Linked DNA regions of Homo sapiens: region 1 is linked to region 2. Evidence: promoter capture Hi-C in human tissues and cell types (Jung and others, 2019). All regions are on one chromosome and are shown on one strand. Each heading gives the region's core, a stretch centred on a gene start or on the middle of the fragment in contact. The rest is flanking DNA. Distances are from core to core; before and after follow the strand shown. Region 1 overlaps CRTAC1 (cartilage acidic protein 1). Region 2 holds the start of CRTAC1 (cartilage acidic protein 1).

The links. The method cuts DNA at HindIII sites, captures the fragments that hold promoters and counts their contacts. A contact is called where the count stands out against the background at its distance.
Region 1: a contact is called between a fragment that was not itself captured here and the fragment with the promoter of CRTAC1 in region 2, in 5 of the 25 tissues and cell types used here (hippocampus, liver, neural progenitor cells and 2 more).

The regions. Positions count from the first base shown.
Region 1 is chr10:97,983,811-97,987,467 of GRCh38, reverse strand. All of the region lies in intron 2 of CRTAC1 (cartilage acidic protein 1), which reads left to right. Among named protein-coding and RNA genes, the nearest start is that of CRTAC1, 45 kb to the left of the region's middle. The HindIII fragment of the contact is 8,913 bases long and covers 1-3,657 here.
Region 2 is chr10:98,028,897-98,032,294 of GRCh38, reverse strand. CRTAC1 (cartilage acidic protein 1) reads left to right here and starts at 1,674. Exons shown (of 15, transcript NM_018058.7): 1 at 1,674-1,846. The coding sequence starts at 1,823. The HindIII fragment of the contact is 23,473 bases long and covers 1-3,398 here.

The DNA of each region.
Region 1 (3,657 bases), core at 679-3,178, 45 kb after region 2:
AACCCTCAATTTTAGTCCTTTTGAAACCTATTGAGATCCAGTGATGCAAAGAAGACACCAGCTAGATTTCCAAGAAAATCTCATGCTCAGAATTATGAATTAAAGGAAGGGAGGCCTAGAGAAATATTCCACATGAACCCCAGTCGGGAAAAGAACAAAGGAATACAGATGAGTAAAGTCAGTGTCTCAGAGTGTGTCATCCATGAGAGCCATGGCTTATAAAGGAGCCAACCAGGGCATGTCTCTGGGGACCAAGGGGCTACTGGCTCCAACCTTACTCTCTCAAATGCGAGATTCATAAGGCTGTATATACAACCATTGTATTTGTGTGTGCATGTGTTTCAGATATTTTTTCTTGTGATATCTTTAAATGATATGAATGATTTTGGCAACTCTGTTTTGGCATTTCTTCATTTCTTAATATACTGAGAGTCTCAGAATCTGGAAGTGACCCAGCCCTCTCTCAAACCTCAGGACACTCTGGCATTAGTATTTAATGAGCACCTGCAATGTACCAAACTCTGTGCTTTGCCCTTTACACATAATCTTATTTACGAAGGAGATGCTACTGTTTCTGATTTATAAAAGAGAAAAGTGAGAACAGGAGGGCAGATCTCTCGCTGAAGGTCACCCAGTTAGTAAGGGTCAGAGCCGGGAGGTGGTTGTGGCCTGTTTGGCACCAAGGCCCAGACTTTTCCTTCCTGCCCCTGGTTCCCAAAGCAGGGCAGGGCCAGTCTGAATGAAATTGTTGTCATCTTGTAGCAAAATTAACTAAATAAGAATGATGTACTAATAATATTTTCATAACGCTAAAATTATTTAAAGGACTGATTTTTCAATTCTAAGATTTTGTAATTCTTGTTTTTCTGGTGTTGAAAAGTATTTTTATGGTTATATCATAGATGATGGGGGTTTTGCTTTGTTTTTTGTATTGTCCTCAGTTGGCAAAATAAAACACTCGCAATCCTGCATGAGTGCTCTCAAGGTTGTTTTTGAAAGTTCACTGTGCCATGACATCTTAACGTTGGAAAGTACTGCTCTAGATAACATTGACATCTCACGAAGGAAGGGCTGCCCTTCATTGAGTGCCCATGGGCCCCAGGCTGGATGATTCGCATGTGTTGTCTCTGATAGATCAAACCACTAAAGGAAGGTCTCCCCTGGTTTCACAGGCTAGGGAATTGAGGCTTAGAGGACCCCCTGAGAGTGCTTGCAAAGGTCTTGGCTTCAAATGCTAGAGCTCTCCTCTCCCCGGTGTGGTGGCAGTCTGTTTGGGAGCCCAGTCCCTGCCCTTGGTGCATTTCATCCCCAAGCGGCCTCCCTCCCAGTCCTGGGCCATCTGAGACACAGCCTCATCTTCCCTTTACCCTTCCTCCTTCCCAGAGCCCAGCCCTTTTCCCACACATTGCAGCTTTGATCGCTCTCAGAACCTACATAAACAGCATTTTAGAGGCTGTTGCAGCTATTGTGGTCCGCATTGGTGCTCTGGCTTGGAATAACTTCTCAAAGATCCTCAATAGGGAGGTTGTGGCCTTCTGTCCCTTGCTGGCCAGGGACACTGAGGTCAAATGGGATCCCCAGAGCTCTTGGCAGTTCACAAAGTGAGTTCTTATTTCAGTGCAGGACAGGCTGGGATGGGTGGGCCAGCTACTGTCTCAGGACCTGGCTTACATGTTAATAATGGTCCAGATGCATGCACGTGGTTTTCCCTCTGTGTGCAGGGGTTGAAGGGTGATTCTTCTCTGCATAGGCTGTGGCTGGTTTTCTTGGGAGCAAGCACAATTGGACTACACAGGAGGCCTCGGCACTTTGCAGAGGCAAGTGCACCTCTGGGATGACCAAAGGCTGTTCTCATGCATGCCCCGGCTCATCCACAGTGACAGATGCACAGTTGGCCTCCATGTGACTGCCAGAGGTGGCTGTAGCAGGCATACCGCAAGCAGGAAGAGCACCTGCTCTCTTCATTAGGACAAGGAGAAGAACGAAGCTGGCTGCTGGCTTCATGAGTGCTCTGAGGGAAAGGAGCAGGGTCTAGTTCCATCTGGAGAAGATGGAGCAGCCCATAGACTGGTGTATTTTTTAGGAGCTATGAGATAAAGAAGAAAGATTCCATCAGCTCATGGAACTGGTGATGGCTAATGAGGCCAATGTAATTTACAACGTGAGAAAAATGTTGACAAATAGAGCAAAAATTCTTATACATAATATTATAGAGTAGTAGGAAGAAGAATAACAGGGCTTAGCTATGGTTCAAATTTGTCATTTTTTGGTGCCTAGCATCTATTCTCTCTTCCTTTCTTTACTAGTAGGTAATTGCTTCTCCCCTTTTGTGGGCAGTTTCAGAAAAATGGTAATCAAGGAATACTGCCCTTTACTCTACACAAGCCGAAACAATCCCTGGAAGTTCTGGCCAAGGGGTGGAGCCACGAGTTGGGCACAAGTCTGACATGCACCCAATTACAGTCTCCTCTGAGTCTTTCATTTTTGGGCAGAGCAATGCAAGGATTGAAGAATTGTTTGAAATTTAGTTATTTTCACTGCAGCACCAGAGCTAGGCTGTCAGAAGGTTCTGGCTCCTTCTTGAGCTGCCTTTTCCTAACCTGGTCCTTCGGCCTTCCCTTTGAACTAGTGAGCTCCCCCATAGCCCTGCCAGTCAATTTCCTTTTCACGTAAGTCAGACAGACTCAGCTTCTGTTGCTTACAATCAAAGAATCCCACTGAGCATCACGTGCCCAAACAAGTTGTCTTTACAGAGGGGTCTGGAAGGTCATGTACCTGGTTCAGTGGTGCTGCCAACCCTCAAAGAGTGCAGGAGTTTTGCATTTGAGATGACCTTGGGAGCCTTGTTTCCACGTCATGCAAGAACACCAGACCCTGTAACCATGCTTCAATTTGGACCCAAAACAACATTACCAGCTCAATCAGCTGGTTATTCACCGAGCTTGGCTACAAATGCCAAAAAGCTTCTTGACTGTTTCCAAAAATAAAATTCAGCTCTGCAGGATGGGGCTCTGCCACCATTGTGCTTATTCCAAATAATGTGGCATGGATTTGCAGAAAATTCTCAAGAGAGGCCCCAAAGTGTCTGGAACAATGGCAGCAACCTTGGGATAAATATCTGGCATCTCTGATGACTGCTCAGATGGGGGAGGGACACTCATTTGGATGGATGGATTCCAATATATTTATTAAATAGCCCATCTCATTATCTAGAAGTCACACTCCATGCTGGAGACACGTTTCCAAGCCTGAGAGCTAGAGTGTTTTAAGAGCCTTTGGAAAATTCTCTACATGCAGTCTGAGACCCTGCCCCACCCCTCAGACATAGCCATGTAGGGATTTTCGCCTTCACATGGGAAGCAGATGAGGTTTAACAAGCAGTGGCTGTTGTCTCTTCCTCTTAAGCAAGATGTGTGTCCTTTGCCCAAGGATGGGCTGAAATCTAAAATAAGAGAACATGTAACATCCATTGGCAAACCTCTGGTTAAAGCCCCTTGCATAGGCATCATGTTTCCTTGCTTCTTAACTTTCTTTTAGATTAGAAAAATATTTGCCATTAGGTTTCCCAAAATAAAAAAATGTGTGTATGCTGTGTGTTATATGCATACGTATTTTTGGATGACACTGCAGGCCCCAGATGGAAACAAGAGAGTGGGT
Region 2 (3,398 bases), core at 425-2,924:
CTAATGATCCTGAAAGTATACTCAAGGTGTGTGTGTGTGTGTGTGTGTGTGTGTGTGTGTGTGTGTGTGTAAATGTGTGTGTTTGTATATTTTTCTAGAAAAATGATTCAGTAATTTTTGCCAGATTTTCAAAGGGGCCCACAACCTTACAGGCTTGATGGGGGCTCAAAAAGCCAGAAAGTTTGTCTGTGCCTAGCTATTTCTTTTCAGAGGAAGATCACAGAGACCTGAAAACAGAGCCCAGACTAGGTCCTGGTAGTTCTGCTCAAAATCTGTGGATAACAGGGGCCAGAGGCTGGATGTGTGGCCCTCTATAAAAGAACACATTCAAATCATTCTAAGAGTCAAGGGCCCAGAAGCCAGACTAGTGGGTGATGGTCACAAAAGCGTCAACGGATGGGAAAACAGTCCTAGCTCCTTCCCTCTCCGATGGTGGATTCCCAAGTCTTTCTCTTCTGTGGCCCCTTTACCTGGCTTTCAGAAACCCAAAGACCTCACTCATGGAAGCTCAGAATTCATTCAATAAACACTGAGCGCCTACTATGTGCCAGGCTCTATTCTAGGCGTAAAATAAAGGATTTGCCTTCAGAGTGTGACCCACCAAGGCCAGTTTCCTGCCTGAACAGGGGTATTTTGAGCATTGCTGATCAAGTGTGTTTTTCTGGCGCTTAGCACCCCCATTCCCCTGGTCCAGAGAGGCAGAAACCATCCCCCCACCACCACCAAGGCAGCGGGTTGGGGGCGAGGAGAGGCGGGCAGTACCTGTGATCAAAGCGGTGAGGGAGGCTAGTAGGACGCAGGCGGCAGGAGCGGGTGGGCCAGGCCCGACTCGGCCACTGCTGGGGTAGGGACTAGGTGGGATGGGGTGGGGGCACTGCTGGTGGGGACGGGGTGGGGTAGAAGCGGCGCTGCCCGCAGCCGCCTGGGCCTCTGCGCGCCTGATCTCCGAGCTGCGCTCGCCCGCTCCCCGCCTGCGGGGGCCGTCGCGGAGCCCTGCTCTCCATACTGAGCAGTCCCCGGGAGGTGCTCGGACACGTCCCCAGGCTGGATAAAGATCGGCTCGGCTCTAGCTCCGTAGTCGAAATCTCGCCATCAGCGCGGCTCGCTCGGCCGCTTTGGCCCGGCCCGGCGACGCCAGATCGCTATCCTGGGGGGAAATGGGAAGGCAGTGCAGCCGCTCCCGCCTCCACCCTCGGTCCTGCGCGCAGGGGTGGCCGCGGGGTCCTGGGGCTCGCCGCCCTCCCCTCCCCCTTCGCGTTCCTTCCCTGCGCTGCCTCCCGAGGGACCCTCGCTTCCCTCCGGCCTGGGGCCCCCAGCGCCCAGCCAGGCGCCCTCTCCCCTCCTCGCCAGGCCTCGCTGCCGCCTGAAGGTTACGCGACGCAGTGGCGGGGCGCGGGGGGCGCCCGCCCTCGCCGCCGCCTTCGCCGCCGCCCACCCCAGTGGCCGCCGCGCCGCGCCGGGCCAGCCTGGCTGCCGGCTGCTGCCACCGCAATCCCGGCTCCTAAATCAGCGCGGGGAGGCGCTCCCTCCCCACGCCCGGCTCTCCGGGCTCTCGGGGCCGCGATTGGCCGCGCCGGCGCCCCCCACCCCGGGCCCCCGGCTCCAGCTGCCGCGCCATTGGCTGCGGGCCTCCGCCAGCCTTTACATAAGACCGGGCGCGCTCGAGTGGAGTTGTATAAAGCGAGCGCGCGGCGTCGGGGCGGGAGGCTCGAGGCCAGCCCGGGACCGGGGCTGGGAGCAAGCAGGCGGCGGCGCCGGCGGCAGAGGCGGCAGCGAGCGCCCGCTTCCCACGCCCCTAGGCGGCGGGGCCGAGAGCGGGAGGATGGCTCCGAGCGCTGACCCCGGCGTGAGTATCTGCACCGGTGCCCCCCACCCTAAGGCGGAGAAAGTTTCTCCAGCTCTGCGCGCCCCCCCGGATCCGCCCGCAAGGGTGGCGGGGACGCCGCCCGGGAACCCGGGAAGACTGGGATCGCGAAGGCGGCGGCTTCGCTCCTAACTTGCTGGGAGGCGCTGGACTCGATTGGCGCGCGGAGCCTCCCCCGCGGGCTGGGGGTGAGGCGGCGGCCGGGTTGGAGGTGGCGGAGAGGTGGGAGCTGATGTGTGGGGGCGACAGCCAGCAGCTGGCAGAGAAAGTGTTGGGGGCGCACTGGAGGTCAGCTGTCAGGGGAGGGGGCCTCTGGGGCCTGGAGGGGGCGGAGCGGGTGAGGAGGGATGTGCCGGGCTATCGGGAGAGTCTCCCAGTCAGCCAGGCTGAGACCCGGGCCTGGGAAGCCACTGGCCTCGGCCGAGTGCCTACGCTTCCAGGCTGGGGAAGAGCCCCGCGGGCTGGCTCTTCCTCCCCTGGGAAGCCGAGTTCCCGGGCACAGCGCTGGGTGGCAGAGAGCTCCGGGAGCCAGCCCCGCGCGCGGCGTAGCTGCTAGCCGCCTTATGCTGGACGAGGTGTGGTCTTCCCTTCAGGCTGCCTGAGGCAAGCCGGCTTCAGGCATTCCAGGGGAACCCTGAGTCCTCCTCGACCCCGTGGGGGCACTTGGAGGCTTTGATGGGGCAGCCAGGCCGGGCTTGGGGGCATGCCCAGCAATGCAGCGCGCTTCTTTGCAGTACAGTAGTTGGGAGCCCTGGTTAGTCCCGCTTCTGCAGAAAGCAACTCAAGAATCCAAAGTCATCCCAGCCTGGATGGAAGCCTCCCAGAGTGGCGGGGAAATTCTCCTAGGGTTGAGAGCTGGGGGGGCTTCCTCCAGGAATGACTAATGAATATTGCTGCTGCTGCCGCCGCCGCCGCCGCCGCCGCCGCCGCCGCCGCCGCTGCTGCTGCTGGTGGGTGCACCCAGTGTGGCTTCTGCACATCCCAGGAGATGCTTCCGTTCTCCTGACAGGACACATTCTTGAGTTGCACTTGAGGTGTCTTCTGGGATGGGTGCAGGACTTTCCACGTGAAGCCAAGTGGAAAAGAAGGGAAGAGGGTCCCAGGACAGGGGACAGTTCTATAGTGTTTTCTTGAGTCAGGGGAGAACTCATGTGGGAAGAGATAAGCGATTGACGGAGATTTGGAACCCAGACGACTTGGGGCTGGAGATGTCCAAGACTGAATTAGAGCTCATTGAGAGTCACAGAGTACCTCACCCTCAGCCATGGGGGAGAGGTGGAGGCTGGAAAAGTGGGAACATGGTGGCTGTTCCAGCATGGTTCTTGAGAAAATGTTCTCTCTCTCTCTCTGACTTGGTTAAGAACATCCTTCTGGCAGTAGGTCCTAAAGTCAATTTAAGAGGTAATGAAGGGAGTTGAGGGTCTTGATGATGGCACAGAGGACCACAATTAGAACATTTCCATTTCCGGTGGGTACTAATGGACTCTGGAAAAGGTCGAAACGGTGTGTAGGGAGTCTGGGGAACCTGCTCTGT